Regions from separate parts of the Homo sapiens genome. Here region 2 is linked to region 1. The links are contacts of gene promoters, found by promoter capture Hi-C in blood cells and fetal thymus (Javierre and others, 2016). All regions are on one chromosome and are shown on one strand. The core of a region is centred on a gene start or on the middle of the fragment in contact, and the rest is flanking DNA. Distances in the headings are between cores, read along the strand shown. Region 1 holds the start of GALNT4 (polypeptide N-acetylgalactosaminyltransferase 4). Region 2 overlaps CEP290 (centrosomal protein 290).

The links. The method cuts DNA at HindIII sites, captures the fragments that hold promoters and counts their contacts. A CHiCAGO score of 5 or more calls a contact.
Region 2: a contact is called between a fragment that was not itself captured here and the fragment with the promoter of GALNT4 in region 1, in 6 of 17 cell types (megakaryocytes, M0 macrophages, activated CD4 T cells and 3 more). The highest score is 7.1, in megakaryocytes.

Annotation. Positions count from the first base shown.
Region 1 is chr12:89,523,546-89,529,951 of GRCh38, reverse strand. It overlaps GALNT4 (polypeptide N-acetylgalactosaminyltransferase 4), which reads left to right and starts at 5,156. Exons shown (of 1, transcript NM_003774.5): 1 at 5,156-6,406. The coding sequence starts at 5,403. POC1B-DUSP6 (POC1B-DUSP6 readthrough) reads left to right here and starts at 3,905. Exons shown (of 11, transcript NR_189589.1): 1 at 3,905-4,071; 2 at 4,748-4,832. POC1B (POC1 centriolar protein B) reads left to right here and starts at 3,905. Exons shown (of 12, transcript NM_172240.3): 1 at 3,905-4,071; 2 at 4,748-4,832. The coding sequence starts at 4,057. POC1B-GALNT4 (POC1B-GALNT4 readthrough) reads left to right here and starts at 3,690. Exons shown (of 3, transcript NM_001199782.1): 1 at 3,690-4,071; 2 at 4,748-4,832; 3 at 6,279-6,406. The coding sequence starts at 3,797. It also overlaps POC1B-AS1. RefSeq lists silencers at 3,950-4,209, 4,760-5,139 and an enhancer at 5,230-5,439. The HindIII fragment of the contact is 3,011 bases long and covers 3,607-6,406 here.
Region 2 is chr12:88,101,386-88,106,793 of GRCh38, reverse strand. It overlaps CEP290 (centrosomal protein 290), which reads left to right. Exons shown (of 54, transcript NM_025114.4): 25 at 1-119; 26 at 3,783-3,956. Among named protein-coding and RNA genes, the nearest start is that of CEP290, 38 kb to the left of the region's middle. The HindIII fragment of the contact is 719 bases long and covers 1,892-2,610 here.

The sequences.
Region 1 (6,406 bases), core at 3,907-6,406:
TAGTAAGGTGAACAGTAGATGGCACTTTTGTACTATGCTGAATTTCCAAATTTGAAGGCCAAGGAAGAACCAGTGCTAAAATAAAAATAACTCTTTATAATGCTCAAGTAAGTACATTCAATTTCTGTTTTAGGGGGAACTGTATAAGAAGGGCTAATTAGAGGTCAGTTTGTCCTAGCTAGTACCCGGCCTCCAGTAAAACCTTGTAGGTTTTTAAATACTGATCCTGCTTGTGGCTCCCACCCACATAAATGATTAGGTTGCAGTCCAGAGAGGTCTAAATAATCATTGTAGCAAGTGGAATTAGGCTTGAGGTTAGAAAAAACTTCCCCAACTTTGACCACATTTCCAATTGTCTACCTCTGAGCTTTTGCTATTTGCAAAGGTGAAGAAAAGCCGAAAAGAACAAAATCAAATACTATGGAAAAGAACAATGGGAAGGGCAGTTTAGAGTAATAAATGAGGACAGTGGAATGAAAATAAAGGAGATATTACTTTCATTTTGTAAAACTTATTATTATAAACCTTGGCAAGAATGCAATGTTTTATACATTTACATAACACTTGCAATCACACAAAAGTCATGACAGTGATTAAGAGAGTGGATTCTGGGCCAGGTGAGGTGGCTCACACCTGTAATCCCAGCACTTTGGGAGGCCGAGACAGGCGGATCACGAGGTTAGGATATTGAGACCATCCTGGCTAACACGGTGAAAACCAGTCTCTATTAAAAAAAAAATACAAAAAAAATTAGCCGGGCTTGGTGGCGGGCGCCTGTAGTCCCAGCTGCTCGGGAGGCTGAGGCAGGGGAATGGCGTGAACCTGGGAGGCGGAGCAGCTTGCAGTGAGCCGAGATCGCGCCACTGCATTCCAGTCTGGGCGACAGAGTGAGACTCCGTCTCAAAAAAAAAAAAAAAAAAGAGAGAGTGGATTCTGGAGGCAGACTGCGAGTGTCTAAAAATCTCAACTCTGCCACTTCCTAGTTAGCAGTGTGCCTTGGGCAAGTAACTTAATGTCTTTGCATATCAATTTACTCATCTATAAAACGGAAATGGTAATAATAGCACATCTCTAATAAGATCGTTATGATCACTAAATGTCAAAATTTGTAAGGTACTTAGAAAAGTCCTGGCATGTAGTGAAAACATAGGTAGGTATATTAGTCCGTTCTCACATTGCTATGAAGAACTACCTGCGACTGGGTAATTTACAAAAAAAGCGGGTTTAATTGGCTCATGGTTCTGCAGGCTGTACAGGAAGTATGGCTGGGGAGGCCACAGGAAACTTACAAACATGGTGGAAGGCAAAGGGGAAGAGAGCATGGCTGCTCCATGGCTGGAGCAGGAGGAAGAGAGCAAAGGGGGAAGTGCTACACACTTTTAAACAACCAGATCTCGTGATAACTCACTCAGAACAGCAAGGGAGAAATCCACCCCCATGATCCAATCACCTCCCACCAGCCCCCTCCTCCAACACTGGGGATTACAATTCTACATGACAGTTGGGTGGGGACACAAATCCAAACCATATCAGTAGGTGACAAATTTTTTAAGATCAACTTTAGGTAATAGGATTAATATGTAGTTTCCCTCCCATCTTTTAAATTTAAAACATGTGTTTCTTGATAATTGAGAAAAAAAGTAAAAGCTAAACTTTTACTAAAACACTTAAATAAAAATCTATATTTTTTCTTCTTGTGAGCTAGTTTCTAAATCTCCAACTTCTTCCCTTTTCTGCTTCTCCTGTGCCCAATATTAGACGTAACATACCTATGAGTAATCCTGAGGTCCTGATTACTCTTCAGCTTCTGGCATTATTATTTTATTATTGGGGTGAAATACCTGTAATGAAATTTACCATTTTACCCATTTTTTAGGTGTACAATTCACTGGCATTAAGTACATTCACAATGTTGTGCAAACATCACCACTATCTATTTCCAGAACTTCATCATCCCAAACAGAAACTCTGCACCCATTAAACAGTAACTCCCCAGTCTCCCTTACCCCCAGCCCTAGTAACCTCTATTCTACTTTCTGTCCTTATGAATTCACCTATTCTAGGTACCTCATATGAATGGAATCATACAATATATGCTCATTTGTGTTTGGCTTATTCACTTAGCAAAATGTTTTCAAGGTTCATCCATGTTATAGCTTGTATCACAATTTCATTTCTTTTTATGGCAGGATAATATTTCCTTATATGTATATATCACATACATTTTGTTTATCCATTCATCTGTTGGATACTAGGATTGTATCCACTTTTTGGCTATTGTAAATAATGCTTGCTTTGAACACTGGCATCTGTTGGAGTCTCTGCTTTCAATACTTATGGGATATACCTAGCAGTGAAATTGCTGGATTATAAGGTAATTGTATGTTTAACTTTTTAGGAACTGACAAACTTTTTCACAGAGCTACATCATTTTACATTCCCACCAGTATCCAGCATTAGTTTTAAACATGGCAGGCTTTTAAAATAAATCAAGCCTAAACTGGTAATATGTAGCAAAACTAAGAGTCCTGCAACAGTTTGCTGACAAGTTGCTGATATCAACACTCTTAACATATCATCTCCTAGACTAATGCAGTGTTTCTCAACATAGACAGCTGAGACTCCCATAGTAATCATCTATGGAGCTTGTTACATCAGAAGGGCCCTGGATCCCACCTTGTATATGTTGATTCAGCATCTCTGGAAATGGAGCCCCCAAATCAACATTACAAATGCTAAAGCATGAGACTCACCAACCCTAGATTGCTGAGTTCTTGAAGGTAGGGGAAATATCTTAGTCATCATTGTGTCCCTCAAGGCCAAACATACAACAGATATTTAACAAGTGTATACTTAAATTAACTAATACTGTAATCTAAAGCCTACCTGTTTAGTTGTTAAGTACCATATTCAATAAAATTAAACTCAATCACTAGACAACTAGGGAATCTGTAATTAAGGTGTGTAGCATACCTTTCATTTGCATAAAACACATGTCTTACCAGCTGTGTTCTATCATGCCCTTTGATGTTGCTAAGGATCTTTACACTATATGTAATTTTCAGCTCAGAACATCACGCTTTGAGGCAGGGTTAAAAAAAAAAAAAGGATATGGACTTGGAATTAGAAGAACTGTCTCTGTGTGACCTCTAAGACCAATATCTAGGAATCAAGTTTATAACTTGGAAACATTGAAAACATTTTGTAATTCTACCAACTTCATTGTTTGGCTGAAGCACAAATGATACTATGTGTAACAAAGCCTGCTGTAGAAACGTGGTCTCACAAAAAACAAACAAAAAAAACCATGTTTCCAAGTCTTCCTAAAGACTTTAAGTATCCAGCTGTGTAAGTTTAGTGCTCTAAGGTATACGCAAATAAGCAGATGAGAATGGAAACATATCGCAGAAAATTATTAAGTGCATGCACAACATTTATTCATTCATTCACTCATTCATTCATCACGCACATCCAGCAACTATATCAATATCCTGCAGGGCACTGTGTGGAAAACAGTGGTTAAATAAATTCAAATCTGCCCTCAGGGGATTTAGTTCCTTTTAGTATATTAATAACTAGCAAGCTGCCCCTCTTCATGTCAAAGCTTTACGTCAACAAAATAAGCGGTAGGGGATCACCTTAAACGTCACGGGTGCTGTCTCTTTAAAACGTAATAGAACTCTGATCGCATCGATCACAGGCTCACAACGCCCTTCCATTCATCGCTCTTATTCCAGTCCTGGTTACTACCCCACTTCCTGACATCAAACCAGGGAGAACGCGAGTGTTAGTTAACATGGCTTGGTGTGTGGCCACAGCTGACCCGGCGCATACCTCCCGTCCTCTCTTTACAGGGCTGGCGGTGTCTCGGGGCTCGGCTGGCCATGCCTGGAGCGCGGGGTTTGACTGGGCCGCCGTTGTTGTAGTGACCGGGAGGCGCTGCCGCTCTGGGCAGACGGTTCCGGGAGCCGCACGGTCCCCTCTCCTTCCCCATCCTCTCCCCTCCCCTCTCCGGGTTCCCCCACCCACAGGAGCCTTGGGCCGACCACTCCCCCGATGGCCTCAGCCACGGTAAGGACGGGTTGGAGGTGGGGGGGGTCCCTCCCTGGAGCCTGTCCCGCGGGCTGCGGGGCCAGGTCCGGGCCGAAGCCGCACCTGGAGGGAGATGGAGGCAGGTGTCCGTAGCCGGGTCCTGAGCCCCTCGTCCCGGGGCGTCCGTATCTCACTCTCTGCCATCGGGGCGGACGGAGTGCGGAACCCAGACCCGGCTCCCGGACGCTCTTCCCCGAGTTCCGGAGCTCCGGACTGAGCTGGGCGGCCCCACGGCCCCCAGAATTCTCGGAGGGTTTCCGTGGAGCGCCTGCGTCAGAATCACCTAGGAAGTATTAAAAAAAAAAAAAGTACCAAAGCCGAGGCGCATCCTCGCACCTGCCTGCCTTGGGCCAGCGGGCGGGGCCCGGGAACGTGCATTTCAAAGGGGCCGCGGTTCCTGCGATGCGCTGGACTCTGGGAAGCGCGAACAGAGCGTTTTGCGGGCTCTGCGGGGAGAGCTGGCGCCGGCGTCTCCCTGTAGCAGGACTGGGCGCCGCGCCCGTGGGTGGGCTGCTGCCCGGCCCCGCCGCCCAGCCAAGCCGCCGCCTGGGTGGCCATTCCCAAGCCGGACTCCGGGGAAGTGGCAGCGTGGATCCCAGCCGCCAGAATTCGAGGTCTGCGGCGGCTTTCAAAACTTGACAACTTTCCTTTCCAGGAGGACCCCGTTCTGGAGCGTTATTTCAAAGGCCACAAAGCTGCGATCACCTCCTTGGACCTCAGCCCCAACGGCAAGCAACTTGGTAAGTCTTATTCTTGTTTTGCTTTTGTAATGAGACTAAACTCCATGGGCCGGAAACCTTTCCTCCTGTCCGGGCAGGGTCCCTAGGAGAACGGCTAAGGGCCTGTATGAGGGTTGAGAGCACCCGGAGACGAGGGCCCAGCGCGGCGGGGCGCAGCTAGGGCCCCCTCTGCCATCCCGGCCCCCAGCCCCCGGCCCGGCCAAGAGCCTCCTATCCAGCGGTCTGGGCCTGGCGGACGACTTTCGCAAACTAACCACCAGGAGGAGTGAGTGGGAAGGGGAGGGGTTTCTCCTCGGCCCGGGGAGGGTGGGGTGTTGGCTGGAGAGTTTGTGAAAAGTTGTGAGCCGAGCAGGAGGAAGTAGGGAGAGAGGAGTTGGGCTGTGCCGGAGGCCGAGGACCGAGAGGGCTCAGGTGACCCCTGGAAAGCCTGGGTGGCTGGAAAGGAGCCTAGCGCCTGCATGAAAGGAAGAACCTGCTGGGAAGTACCTGAGCTCGAGCTGTGGGTTCCGCCGCCCTTCCCCTGCGTGGTGGCTTGGTGGCCGCGTCTGCGCCTCAGCCCTGAGAATCCGGATGGCGGTGAGGTGGACTTGGGCAGGCAAGAGCTGCCTGCTGCTGGCGTTTTTAACAGTGGCCTATATCTTCGTGGAGCTCTTGGTCTCTACTTTTCATGCCTCCGCAGGAGCCGGCCGTGCCAGGGAGCTGGGGTCAAGAAGGCTCTCAGACCTCCAGAAAAATACGGAGGATTTGTCTCGACCGCTTTATAAGAAGCCCCCTGCAGATTCCCGTGCACTTGGGGAGTGGGGGAAAGCCAGCAAACTCCAGCTCAACGAGGATGAACTGAAGCAGCAAGAAGAACTCATTGAGAGATACGCCATCAATATTTACCTCAGTGACAGGATTTCCCTGCATCGACACATAGAGGATAAAAGAATGTATGAGTGTAAGTCCCAGAAGTTCAACTATAGGACACTTCCTACCACCTCTGTTATCATTGCTTTCTATAACGAAGCCTGGTCGACTTTGCTCCGTACCATTCACAGTGTTTTAGAAACTTCTCCTGCAGTTCTTTTGAAAGAGATCATCTTGGTGGATGACTTGAGTGACAGAGTTTATTTGAAGACACAACTTGAAACTTACATCAGCAATCTTGATAGAGTACGCTTGATTAGGACCAATAAGCGAGAGGGGCTGGTTAGGGCCCGTCTGATTGGGGCCACTTTCGCCACTGGGGACGTCCTCACTTTCCTGGATTGTCACTGTGAGTGTAATTCCGGTTGGCTGGAACCGCTTTTGGAAAGGATTGGGAGAGATGAAACAGCAGTTGTGTGTCCTGTTATAGACACAATTGATTGGAATACTTTTGAATTCTATATGCAGATAGGGGAGCCCATGATTGGTGGGTTTGACTGGCGTTTAACATTTCAGTGGCATTCTGTCCCCAAACAGGAAAGGGACAGGCGGATATCAAGAATTGACCCCATCAGATCACCTACCATGGCTGGAGGACTGTTTGCTGTCAGCAAGAAATATTTTCAGTACCTTGGAACGTATGACACAGGAATGGAAGTGTGGGG
Region 2 (5,408 bases), core at 1,002-3,501, 1.4 Mb after region 1:
ATACAACCTTAGTAGAATTGGAGCGACAACTTAGAAAAGAAAATGAGAAGCAAAAGAATGAATTGTTGTCAATGGAGGCTGAAGTTTGTGAAAAAATTGGGTGTTTGCAAAGATTTAAGGTACATCTGATTCTTATTTTGCTTTTTCTGACTATGAAAAATTTCAAATATGCAGAAGATAGGATGGTATCAATAATGCTCATCACCTGAATTAATAGTTAACATTTATTAACATTTTGTCATAATTGCTTCTTCTGATTTTTGTGGGATGTTTGAATTGCAGACATTCCTCCCCTAAATATTTAATGTACCCTTTTGAAAAAGGCTTTTTTCTTTAACTAACCATAGTAACTTTATTATACCTAACAAAATGACAGTAATTTTCTAATATCGCCTAATACCCTGATTATAGTCACATTTTTTACATTTTTTGATCAAAGAATAAGCATTTGGATGTTACATCTCATAAATCTTTTTAATATAGAATCCCCTTGGTTTTCTTTTTCTCCAAAAAATGTTTGAAGATGTATCTAACTTTTGTGTGTGTGTCATTTTACTTGTTCCTGTGTCCCTTGTATTACTAAAAGTTAGGTCAGAACCCTAAGTTACATTCAGGTTTAAACATTTTTGGCAAGAATACTTCATAAGTAGTGTTCTATACTTTATATTGCATCACTTCAAGAGTATCTGGTTGTTCCATGTTTTGTAATTGATTACTCTGTTAAGGAAAAGACAAGCAGACCAAGTATGGTGGCTCATGCCTATAATTCCAACATTTTGGAAGGCCCAGGCAGGAAAATTTCCTGAGCCCAGACCAGCCTAGGCAATATAGTGAGACTCCGTCTCTACAAAAAATGTTTTTTTTTTTGTTTGTTTGTTTTTAATTAGCTTGGTGTAGTGGCACATGCTTGTAATCCCAGCTACCTGGGACATTGAGGTGGGAGGATCGCTTGAGCCCAGGAAGTTGGGGGCTGCAGTGAGCTGTGATCATGTGCCACTGATCTCCAGCCTATGTGCCTGTATAACAGAGCGAGTCTCTCTCTTAAAAGAAAAAAAGAAGAAGAAGAAGAAGAAAAGATAACCATATACCTCCATTATTAAGCAATTTAGCTAACTGGTGATATTTTGGTACCATACAAATAACAAATTATTTGTCAGTCCTAATGATTTTAGCATCTGCTGATGATTGTTGCCTAACCCAATTATTAAAAGTTGCAAACATCATAATTTTCTAGTTATATTATGCACTTACATTTATTAACAGACATGCTTTTGTAAAATAAATAGCGTTTCCTCATTAGCCCAGGCTATTTGTTTATCTTGAAGTTTAGCTCCTACTACAAAGGCAAGATAAATGCTTTTCTCTTTAATTACCAGTTTTCAGAATACACACTTGGTGTACTCTGCACTACCTGCTTTTTTTGTCCCCTCCGCTTTCTCTTTTTTAAGTATCAGATTAGACTCACAGATTTTTAAATATTCCATGTGTTTTAGTTGGAGTCATATTCTTTTGTCTCAACTTTAGCCAAAGAGAGTCCTTTAAAGTTGACTCTTATATTGTCTTGACAAAAATTCATTAGTCTTTTGAACGAAGCCTCAAAGCTTGACTTGTTTTCTAGCATAAGATGTCTTAGACTTACCTACATACTTCATGCCCATACTTGGAATAAACCATTTCTTTAAAGAGCCCAGGTTCCTTTTAGTGGGGAAGGCATTTAGATACCAAAAACTGGCCACTGGGCATCATTGCTCTCAGAGTATCATTGCCACTAGTCTCTCAGTAGACAAGTTAGAAAAATATGTATATATTTAAACCATGAGTTCATATTGTTATTTCCAGTTTAATTATAACATTATGGGGTAAGTAAATAGTATCGGATTTTTACTAAGCTTCTTTGATTTTGCACTTGTATTTTTTTCTTACATAGAAAACCTTTATTATTAACATTAAAATATTTGTTTTATCCTACAATATACATACAATAATTTGAAAAATAATACTTGAATTGATATTAATAGTAACAACAACAGCACTGCTGCCAAACATAGTTTAAAGTTTTATTTCAGGTCTTATTTTCTTCAGAATATATCTTGCTGAGAATGTATAGGCAAAGTATTCTACACTTACTTGAAATAATTGTCTTCATGCGGTTATGTTATACATTTGATATATAGTTAGGCTCATTTGTTTTTCATTTTTTTTATTTTAGGGATTTTTTTCCTTTATTGAATTTTAATATATACAATATTTATATATGCAAAATATTTAATCAGAGAAATCTTAATTCTGGTCTTACGCCTTTCATATTATTCTGCTCCACCCTCTGTAGGTAACTTATTATCTTTCTCATGTTTCCTTTTTGGAAACATAAACAAAGACAAGACAGGTTACATGACATGTATACCCTTCTGCACCTAGTTTTATACCTTACCTTGTAGTTTATTTTTAAGCATGTAAATGTTCAATGTTCATGACTAAATTTGGACAGGATCATAGGAACACAGAATTCAAAGTGAAATTAAAATGGGCTTGGGTTCTTTACTTTCCACTTTAAAGGTTGTAATGGGTGATGTCAGGCTAATAAACCTATTTTCAGCTTGATCTAAAGCTTAATACTGAGCATCAAGAAATTCTTTAATAAATATAAGTGATATTTATTCAGACATGTAATAAGGAAATGTTCATGTCTTATTTTTGTGTTAGATTTTTTTAGAATCTACTTTTGTTAGAGTTTTATAAATACAGTTAGTGTTTGAGATAGAAAGAGAAAAGAATTAGTTTTCTTCCTCTTCTACCTGCTCATGAACTTGATTTTTTTCTCCCAACAATTGAAGAGCCAAGAAAAAGGGAGATTCTTAAGAGATGGGAAATAGAATCTCATCTACCCCTGTTTCCCCCAGAACAGTGAAACTGAATCTTAAGGGTAAGATAGAATAGTGTGTACTTAACTTAGATGGAGAAGAAAGGCTGCCAAAATGAGATCTGAAGCGCTATTACAAATATTTCCATCGTTACTGTACTTCAGAATGAATTACAACCGTAAGTTTTTTTACTTCCTCATTCATAAATTTGATTATTCCTTATACCACTTCTCAGCTTTCATCATTCTTTATTGTACTTTTCTATGTAATGTTTGCCTATTATACAGCAACTTAAGAGAACTGTAAGTTTGGACATTTCATTTTGGTGTTGATAATAGAATATCTTTGAATAGTTCTATAGTTGATGAGTAGAACCATGAACCAAGTAACTTAAAGTCCTTGATGTTATTTATTACAGAGAACTATAATAGAAGCTCTCCCGCTAATGTTTCCATCATGTGTACAAAAAGTTTTCTTGTTATTAAAGCTAGTCCGTTTAACTTACAATAAGCATAAATAGCTAAGCTGTGAAAGTTACCTGTGATAATGCTAATTTTCCCATTTATTAAAAGGCAAGTTGTTTTCCGATCATAAGAAATTTAGAAAAGCCATCCAAAGATAAATTCCGAGTGATATATTCCTGCTGTTTGTTATGTTTTCTCAAATTAATTGAGTTTTATTTTACAATGACAGGAGTTATTAAAGTATTTTATTTTTATTATGATTAAGATTTTCAAAGTAACATTTCTTATATGAAAGAAATTATGTTAATGCATGTTTTTCTTACATGGGAAATCATATATTTTAAAAATGATTTTAAAATTCGTTTTACTTTAAGTTGTATTATCTTTCTCAAAAGTGGCTAGTGCTTGACCAGAAAAAAAGACACCAGCATAACTCAGTGTATCTTTATTTACATAGGAAATGGCCATTTTCAAGATTGCAGCTCTCCAAAAAGTTGTAGATAATAGTGTTTCTTTGTCTGAACTAGAACTGGCTAATAAACAGTACAATGAACTGACTGCTAAGTACAGGGACATCTTGCAAAAAGATAATATGCTTGTTCAAAGAACAAGTAACTTGGAACACCTGGAGGTAAGTTTGTGTGATTCTTGAACCTTGTGAAATTAGCCATTTTTCTTCAATATTTTTGTGTTTGGGGGGATTTGGCAGATTTTAATTAAAGTTTGCCTGCATTTATATAAATTTAACAGAGATATAATTATCCATATTATTCATTCAGTTTAGTTATAAATATTTTGTTCCCACATAACACACACACACACACACAATATATTATCTATTTATAGTGGCTGAATGACTTCTGAATGATTATCTAGATCATTCTCCTTAGGTCACTTGCATGATTTAGCTGAATCAAACCTCTTTTAACCAGACATCTAAGAGAAAAAGGAGCATGAAACAGGTAGAATATTGTAATCAAAGGAGGGAAGCACTCATTAAGTGCCCATCCCTTTCTCTTACCCCTGTACCCAGAACAAACTATTCTCCCATGGTCCCTGGCTTTTGTTCCTTGGAATGGATGTAGCCAACAGTAGCTGAAATATTAAGGGCTCTTCCTGGACCATGGATGCACTCTGTAAATTCTCATCATTTTTTATTGTAGAATAAATGTAGAATTTTAATGTAGAATAAATTTATTTAATGTAGAATAAAAAATAAAAAAACTAGAGTAGAATATCATAAGTTACAATCTGTGAATATGGACCAGACCCTTTGTAGTTATCTTACAGCCACTTGAACTCTATACCTTTTACTGAGGACAGAACAAGCTCCTGATTTGTTCATCTTCCTCATCAGAAATAGAGGCTTATGGATTTTGGATTATTCTTATCTAAGATCCTTTCACAGGAGTAGAATAAGATCTAATTCTATTAGCTCAAAAGCTTTTGCTGGCTCATAGAGACACATTCAGTAAATGAAAACGTTGTTCTGAGTAGCTTTCAGGATTCCTACTAAATTATGAGTCATGTTTATCAATATTATTTAGAAGTAATCATAATCAGTTTGCTTTCTGCTGCTTTTGCCAAAGAGAGGTGATTATGTTACTTTTTATAGAAAATTATGCCTATTTAGTGTGGTGATAATTTATTTTTTTCCATTCTCCATGTCCTCTGTCCTATCCTCTCCAGCATTAGAAAGTCCTAGGCAAGAGACATCTTGTGGATAATGTATCAATGAGTGATGTTTAACGTTATCATTTTCCCAAAGAGTATTTTTCATCTTTCCTAAAGATTTTTTTTTTTTTTTTTTGAGATGGAGTTTCATTCTGTCACCCAGGCTGAGTGCAGTGGCACGATCTCGGCTTAACGCTTACTGCATCCTCTGCCTCCCAGATTCAAGCAGTTCTCCTGCCTCAGCCTCTGAGTAGCTGGGATTACAGGTGTGCACCACCACACCAGCTAATTTTTTTTTTTTTTTTTTTTTTTTTGAGGCAGAGTCTCGCTCTGTCACCCAGGCTGGAGTGCAGTGGCGCCATCTTGGCTCACTGCAAGCTCCACCTCCCGGGTTCAGGCCGTTCTCCTG